Regions from separate parts of the Homo sapiens genome. Here region 2 is linked to region 1. Evidence: promoter capture Hi-C in human tissues and cell types (Jung and others, 2019). All regions are on one chromosome and are shown on one strand. The core of a region is centred on a gene start or on the middle of the fragment in contact, and the rest is flanking DNA. Distances in the headings are between cores, read along the strand shown. Region 1 holds the start of CCDC179 (coiled-coil domain containing 179). Region 2 has its middle 140 kb from the start of MIR8054.

Region 1 (4,340 bases), core at 1,728-4,227:
ATAACTAGGATAATAGAGTAACATATTTCAAATCAATGTAGGTGAGAAAGTTTCAATAATTAGAGGTGTCAAAAAATTGAATGGGTTGGATTGAATTTTCCATCATTGATTTAATCAAAACAAGCTGAATTGCCATTAAATGAAGATATTGCCAAGGGAAGGCAGTGTCTTCATTTAGCGGTAACCCCCTTGGCAATATCATCATTTAGTGGCAATTCAGTGGGAGACTGGGCTGAATGATATCTAAGGTTCTTTTCATTTGGAGAATCTTACAATGTAATCCATAGTAAAATATAATCATAACTACCATGATCGATGACCACTACCTAACAGATACTGGATCCAATTCCTTATTTATATTATTTATAATGATTATAACAACCCTATATTGTTGGATATTATCATTCTCATTTTATAGATACAGAGAAAGTAATTGAGGATCACGCATGATAATTAATTGGCCAGGGTCACAAGAGTTTTCAAGTAGTTACAATAGGATTTGGGCTCTTATGGGTTGCACTACCAACTTCCTAATAAGTCTCAGACATGTGACTCTGGAATATTCTTTTATGCAGCCTTATGGTGCCTGATTCCTGCTAACCCTTTTGACTTTTTTCCATACAAAATATGGTAGGAGGAAAAGCAAAGAGATGTGATGAGTAAAACGTGATGACAACAGTTACACATTCATCAAACCCATGTTACTTATCTGTACACACTGCCATTTGGACATGCTGCACCTCTGTCATAAATGCACTCTCTTTAGCTACCTGGTAAACTCTGGCTACTCCACTCCACTGAGAAGGCTATTTGGGCCTGTCTTCAGAGAGCATTAGGGGCTCCCAAATGTCTGTACAACACAACATGTATTATTATTGAAGCTCACTATACATTTTCTACCTTTTTGTTTTTGCTAATCTATCTGACTGCCTTTGAGGGCAATAATTTATTCATTTTGTATGCATAGGACTTGGCATGATATGTGACAGTAGCATTCAAAACATTTTCTATAGTGTGTCAAGTCAATTCCTGGTTTGTGATAATGGGGAAGTTTATATGATTTTTCTACAACTTATTGCTCCCAGAGGGGAGTTTCAAGAAGAGCATGGATAATGATTTTGAACATTACAGTTGGGCAAAACTGTTTACTTTTTCTAAGCCTAACTCATCAGAAAGACTTTTCAGCAGTTTCTAACGTGATACAAAAATCATATGATAGAAACTGTCCATTGAATTCAGGAGAAAGATCATTTGATTAACCATTTTGAGAAAAGCACCAGTGGAACAGTGGGAGTTGAAACAGGTTTCAGTAAGCCAAATCTTACACTGAACATAAAGAAGAGGCAGAGGTACAGACCACTCTCATGAATATTTACTTTATATAGAGGGGATGGGCAATAGATACAATTGGTTGTTGTTCTAAGGAGTTTCCTTTATTAGTTTGGAGAGGGGGAGATTTGAACTTACAGTAATGAAATGTTTAAAGGAAAGAGGCAATATAGAGAAGTTAACAAGGAGAGGAACAATCTGTAGAGCTAGATCTGAGGAGGCTCCTAGGAGGGAAATGGCATGCAAATGCAAATGGATAGATTTATTTGAGGCAACAGAAGGGATACCAATTTTTTTTTCCATTTCGACAGGGTTACAGGGAAAAGGATAATGTGGATATTGACAAGGTTATAGGATTTTAGGTGGTATTGAGGTAGCCCCAGTGAGGGCTTCAAAAGCAATGGTAGCATAGCACATAATTAGGAGCACATGATCTAAGGGCCAACCCTGGATTTAAATTCCAGCTCACCCTCTTACTAATAGCGTAACTTCAAGAAAGCAATTTAACATGCTAGCGCCTTGTTTCCCAGTGATTATAATCATGCCCTTACCCACCTTGAGTGGTCTAAAGACTTGATCAGTTAACACATATAAATTCATGTAACAGTGCTGAGCATAGTAAGCTCTATACATGTTCACCAGCATCAGAGTGTGAAGCACGGATTGTCCCACTTCTACTGGAAGTGCCTGAGTGTTGGTGGATTCAGAGATTTTAATAGAAGACAATTTGAAGGGAATACTGCAGAGCACAAAAAAAGCTGGTGCAACATAAAAGTCTTAAGCAGCTTTGAGGACCCAGTTTAAATTGGGGGTCACGGCCGGGCCTGGTGGCTCACGCCTGTAATTTCAGCACTTTGGGAGGGCAAGACGGGTGGATCACCTGAGGTCAGGAGTTTGAGAACAGCCTCCAATATGGTAAAACCCTGTCTCTACTAAAACTACAAAATCATTAGCCAGGCATTGTGGCATGCGCCTGCAGTCCCAGCTACTCGGGAGGCTGAGATGGGAGAATTGCTTGAACCCTCGAGGTGTAGGTAGCAGTGAGGTGGAGGTAGCAGTGAGCTAAGATTGTAGCACTGCACTCCAGCCTGGGCGACAGAGAGACTTGGCCAAAAAAAAAAAGAAAAAAGAAAATAAATAAATAAATAGATCTGGGGTCACAAATATGTATTCCAGCCATCTTCAAGCTTCTCCTCACTTCATCTGGTATAGATAGATGGGAAGAAGGCAGACAGTTGGGTCAGCCCAACTAGAAGCTGTGAAGGAACAACAATGAGGTGGTGGAATTGAGAACCCTAACAATAGATAGACAGTCTGAAGTAAGAGAACATGGAGACTAAGCTAGATATGTTAACAAATGAAAGGGGCTTTATAAAGAGAGAGACTAGAGAGATGAAGGGTAGAAAAGGTGGGAAATTGGTATTCTGCAATTTTCTGAGGAAGAAGGATAGGATATAAGGAATTATGGTAAACTGACTTCCATAACTCAAAGACACTGCAGACAACTTGAGGCCTTGCCTTCCCTGCACTGGACTGGAATACAACTGGGGAAAGGGTGGGGCCCATAGCAGGGAGAAGAATAAAGAGAATAGTGATGGAACTGGGTGGGGCAGGGCTTGAAGGCTGTGGGTGTGGGGCCCCATAATCATTTGGTCCAGGACAGGCAGTAGGCGTCAGGGGGCGCCCTAAGGCTCCACGGCATGTGCCTGTATTGCTGGGACATCGAGCCTTCCCAAGTCAACCCTGTGAGTCTGCTGGGGCCTACAACCTCAACTCTGCCACTCTGTCCTGTGCCTTGAGCTCCAGGCCACTGTGGCCTTGGCCATGGTGCTTCTAACTCTTGTAAATGTGGTTTGGTGCTGGGGGTTGGGAAATTCCAGGTGATGTAGACAGACTACATCCTGACTGCTGGACCCCTCTGAAACAAGAAAAAGCTCCACCCACTGTGTGCTTAGGGGTCAGGTACATCACCTGTATGTTGACTGCCCCATTGGCCTGCCCTAGGAGGTGGAGTGGAAATTACAGAAGTAGGGAGCAGGATAAAGTTCTCAATTGCCAGATGTGGAACAGATTGCTCTTGGGTCTTCTGGTTAAAAGATTGGATCAAAACGAGTGAAGGAGGAGTTATTTAAGGTACAATCAAGAAATAGAGGAAGTGGTGAGAATCTCGAAAACTAACAGCCAAGCTCCCTGTGCTTCAGAAAACCATACGATCTCAATCACATCACCAATTACTCCTAGGCTTTGAAACCAGATTGAAGACTAGATTGCTCAATAGCACCACTGAAGTCCTGTAGAAGCAGAAACATGCATTTTTCGATTTCTCGTACATTCTTTCCCTCCCGAATATATCTCTATACTCTGCCTTTTATCTGTAAGGTGGTTCACAGCTGGTTCTTTTTTATCATAATATCGTCTCCATCTTCCACCACAATTTTTATCTTAGATGTTTTTATTCTGAACTTGACTTTTTTCTTTTTGTTTTTTTAACCTGCTTCTTATAGTTGAAATGATTCATATAATACATAAATTTAAAAGTAGCATAGGCTTCCTATTATAATAATTAATTTACTGTTTTTAATGACTTTTTTGTGTGAATGTGTTTTAATTTTGTTTATTATATAGGAAGGACCAAGACAACATCATCCTTCAGAGGTCACTGAGCGGCAGGTAATGTTTAAATAAAGAACTAGGTTCTGGTTGTTTAAACATTGTGCTTGTAACTTGTTCCTTTATGTAGTGGTCCCTAACATAATAGAACTTGTATTAAGTAGACACTTCAGTATATTTCTTGGGACTCTGGGATCTAATGACTACTATTGGAATGGGTCTTAACTAGGGTAAACTAAATGGCTTATGTTATTTTTTAATGTAACATTTGACACATATACAAAAATAGATGTGGCAGATATAATTTATAAATTACAATATGCCTCCCATTTAAGGATTAAAATATTAGGTATTTCTGAATCCAGCTAGGGAATGCTTTTCTATTCTACCTCCTAAGGTCT
Region 2 (4,554 bases), core at 309-2,808, 700 kb before region 1:
AGGTATAATGAAATTCTTTTTCAAGAGGATGCTTATTAGTAAGATTCTCATAATTTCAAAAGTCTCCAGATGTTATTTTTAAAACAAATATTTGATAAATGCCTTCAATTGCCACACATATTTCTATGAATTGGTAGTAGCGGGTAGATAGCAGTGGCATTGTTCATGCTAGAAAATGGGGATAAAAAACTAATAAAGTTTGGGTGGGATAATGGAAAACAAAAAATACAAATTGTGTATTTGAGATAATTGTTAACTTTTGGTTTTTAATTTATGTTAATATTTATGTTATTTTTCTTTTCCATGTGCTTAGTGATTCAAGATAGCAGAACTCCATATACACTCACTAAAATTTTCCTGATACTTTTAGCTATACCCCAAGGCAATCCCATTTATTGAATTTTACCCAAAGTTTTAGTCTCAACTAATATTTTTATTTGAAGTTATCTAATATTATATAATGATATATTTTACTGCATTCCTCATAAGCTTATTTGTTGCATATTCAACAGTTTTATTTCCTATACAACCATAGTTCTGTAAGTTAAAGAGCTATGCTTTATTTCTCTTGACATGTTCCAGGGTTTCTAGAAATATGCATGGCAATTGAAGATACTCACCAAATACCTGTTTTTAAAATGACATTTAGGAGGTAGAGCAAGATAGTGGAAGAGAAACCTCCACTGATCATCTCCACCCGTCCCCACAAACAAGGACACCAATTTAAAAACTATCTACCAAAAAAAGCACACCTTCATAGCTCCTGCAAGCCTTGCCATGATGATGGGCTAAAGTGTTCCAGGGCGCTAAATAAACTCCAAAGGCAGTCTAGGCCACAAGGACTGTAACTTCTAGATGAGTTCTAGTGTGGAACTGGACCCAGAGACAGTGAAATAGGGAGTATGTGACCCACTGAGACACCAGCTGGGGCAGCTAAGGGAGTGCTTGCATCATCCCTCCCCCAGCCCCAGGCAGCACAATTTGCAGCTCCAAAAGAGACCACTTCCTTTGACCTAAGCAGCAGAGACAGAAGGGTGAGGAGGACTTTATCTCGTGCCTTTGATACCAGCTCAGCCACAACCAGATAGGGCTCCATTCAGAGTTCTGAGTCCCCATTTCCAGGCCCTAGCTCCTGAATAACAATACCAGACACACTTTGGGCCAGAAGGAAGCTGCCACTTTGAAGGAAAGAACCCAGTCCTAGCAGCATTCCTCACTTGCTAACTGAAGAGCCCTCAGGCTATGAATAACCAGAAACAATACCCAGGTACTATGTTATCAGCTTTTGGTAAGAGTTTGAGACTTGCTGGCTTCAAGTCCCGGCTCAGTCAGAAGGAGGTAGAGCACAAAGCAGGCTCTTGGGTTTTCAGAATCTAGGACATGGCTCTTAGACAGCATTTCTAGACCTTCCCTGGGCCAGAAGGGAGCCCAGTGCCCTAAAGGGTGAGTCCCAGGCCAGGCAGCATTCACCACAAACTGACTGAAGAGCCCTTGTGCTTTAAGGGAACATTGGCAGTAGTTTAACAGTACTTCTCATGGGCCTGTGGTGGCAGTGGCCACAGAGTGAGGTTCCCCTGCCTTTGGTGAAGAAAGGGAAGAATGAAAAGAACTTTGTCTAGTGCTTTGAGTGCCAGCTCAACTACAATATACTAGGACACCATGGTAGACTTCTAAGGTTTTAAATCTAGTCTCTGGTGCCTGGAAAGCACCTCTAGACCTGCCTGGGCCTGGAAGAAGTCACTACACTGAAAGGAAGGACATAGACCTACCTGGCTTTGCCATCTGCTAACTGTAGAATCCCAAGGCCTTGAGCAAACATAAACAGTAGCCAGGGAGTAGTTAGAGCAAGCCTTGTGTGAGACTCAGTGCTGTGCTGGCTTCAGGTCTGATCCAGTGAAGTAATACTGGTGGTGGCTGCCAGGGTGCTTATGTCTCCCCACCACCAGGTTCAGGTGGCTTAGAGAAAAGAGAAAGACTCAATTTCTTTGGGAGAAAGTAAGGGAAGAGAACAAAAGTCTCTGCCTGGTAATCCAGAGAATTCTCCTGGATCTTGTCCAAGACTGTCAAGGTGGTACCTCTATGAATCTGCAAGAACCACAGAGTTACTTGGATTGGGGTGCTCCCTAAAGCAGTTACAGCTTAGATCACAAGACCCAAATTTTTAATATGTAGAATATCTGGAAAGCCTCCCCAAGAAAGATGAACACAAACAAGCCTAGACTGCAAAGACCACTATAAATACCTAACTCTTTAATGCCAAGACACGGATGAACATCTGCAACTATCAAGACAATCCAGGAAAACATGATCTCATTAAATGAACTAAATGAGTCACCAGGGACAAAGCCTGAAGGAACAGAAATATGTGACCTTTCAGACAGAGAATTCAAAATAGCTGTCTTGGGGAAACTCAAAGAAATTCAAGATAATACAGAGAGGAAATTCAGAATTCTATCAGATAAATTTAACAAAGAGAATGAAACAATTAAAAAGAATCAAGCAGAAATTCTGGACCTAAAAATGCAACAAGCATACTGAAGAATGCATCAGAGTCTTTCAGTAATGGAATTAATCAAGTAGAAGAAACAATTAGTGGACTTGAAGGCAGGCTCTTTGAAAATGCACAGTCAGAGGAGACAAAAGTAAGAAGAGTAAAAAGCAATGAAACATGCTTATGGCATCTAGAAAATAGCCTCAAAAGGGCAAATATAAGAGTTATTGGCCTTAAAGAGGAGGTAGAGAATGTGATAGGGGTAGAAAGTTTACTCAAAGGGATAATGACTAGAATTTTCCAAACCTAGAGAAAGATATCAATATCCAAGTATAAGGCCATAAAATACCAAACATTTAACCCAGAGGACACTACCTCAAGGCTTAACAATCAAATTCCCAAAGGTCAAGGATAAAGAAAGGATCCTAAAACCAGCAAGAGAAAAGAAACAAATAACATTCAATGGAGTTCCAATATGTCTGGTAACAAACTTCAGTGGAAACCTTACAGGCCAGAAGAGAGTGCCATGACATACTTAAAGTACTGAAATAAAATAACTTTTATCCCATAATGATATATCCAGCAAAAATATTCTTCAAACTTGAAGGAGAACTAGAGGCTTTCCCAGACAAAAAGAAGCTAAGAGGTTTCATCAATACCAGAACTGCCCTATAAAAAATGCTAAAGGGTATAGTTCAGTCAGAAAGAAAAAGACCTTAATGAATTATAAAATTGATGAAACTGAAAAATTCCTATTTTATTCATTGAGCTATTCCAAGTAACTAGAATGAATATCAGTAAACAGTAAACAATAATATTTATAGAATGAATTAATCAACTGGATATCATTTAGTTATTTTATTGTTGGTCTGAAGTTACTAAATTTGCCACATTATCTACCTCCAGAGGGCACCATCTATGCTGTAGTTTATATGAAGAGCATTCCCTGGAGTTGTGCAGGGCATGGCTGTCAGGGTTCTGGGACAGTGCTCTCCGCCCTGTTAAAACATTGTAAGCTCCATGAAAATAGAAATGTAGGGCTATATATATACTATATCCTCAAACCTTGGAACCCTTTCTGAAACATAGTATACACTTATTAAATTATTATGTAGTAAATAAATGAAAGAAAATTAGAATTTAAAAACTCCATTAAAAACAGAAGAGGTTTGCAATTCCTGTGTGAGGCTTAGCTGTTTTAAGTGTGTGACTAACTGCCATAAGCAGAGTGAAACACGTGAGAAAAGTTACTTGTCTAATTTAAGTCAAATAATAGTGACGATCAATACAGCACAAAATAAAAATTTATGGTTTGGTTGAAAGAGTGAAAATCAAGAACACTCACCTATAAATTTAATGTTCTTTTATCCTCATTCACTGAAAGTATATTTAATCAACTCTAGCAGTATTGGGAGAAGGATGAAAGAAAAAAGAAGATACAATTTATAAAATGCCTATTGCTCAGCAGAGATGGAGATCAAAAGAGATTTCATGAGCTAAAGCCATAAGAAACAGTATAAAAAATAGATATCTATTATATGGTGGGTCTTTGATATACTCTAGTGTTAGCCAAAGAAAGCTCCAGGTAAGACTGCTACTTTGATTTCCTCTCTCAACAGTAATAATAAACACAGTGAAGCCTTACGTATGTGATATGGTTTGCCTGTGTTCCCACCCAAATCTCAACTTGAATTGTATCTCCCAGAATTCCCACGTATTCTGGGAGGGGCCCAGGGGGAGGTAATTGAATCATGGGGGCCAGTCTTTCCCATGCTATTCTTATGATAGTGAATAAGTCTCATGAGATCTGATGGATTTATCATAGGTTTCTACTTTTGCTTCTTCCACATTCTCCCTTGCCACTGCCATGTAAGAAGTGCCTTTTGCCCTCCTCCATGATTCTGAGGCCTCCCCAGCCATGTGGAACTGTAAGTCCAATTAAATCTCTTTTTCTTCCCAGTCTCGGGTATGTCTTCATCAGTAGCATGAATACAGACTCATACAGTATGACAAAGGAAAATTTATAGAAAGGAAAAGGAATATACTATGCAATAGAAACCGTA

What was found. Contacts are between HindIII fragments. The study calls those that stand out against the background at their distance.
Region 2: a fragment that was not itself captured here is called in contact with the fragment with the promoter of CCDC179 in region 1 in 1 of the 25 tissues and cell types used here (mesendoderm cells).

What each region holds. Positions count from the first base shown.
Region 1 is chr11:22,859,111-22,863,450 of GRCh38, reverse strand. It overlaps CCDC179 (coiled-coil domain containing 179), which reads left to right and starts at 2,977. Exons shown (of 4, transcript NM_001195637.2): 1 at 2,977-3,074; 2 at 3,955-3,999. The coding sequence starts at 3,030. All of the region lies in intron 3 of LINC02718 (long intergenic non-protein coding RNA 2718), which reads right to left. The HindIII fragment of the contact is 9,229 bases long and covers 1-4,340 here.
Region 2 is chr11:23,553,056-23,557,609 of GRCh38, reverse strand. No RefSeq gene overlaps it. Among named protein-coding and RNA genes, the nearest start is that of MIR8054, 140 kb to the right of the region's middle. The HindIII fragment of the contact is 3,682 bases long and covers 1-3,399 here.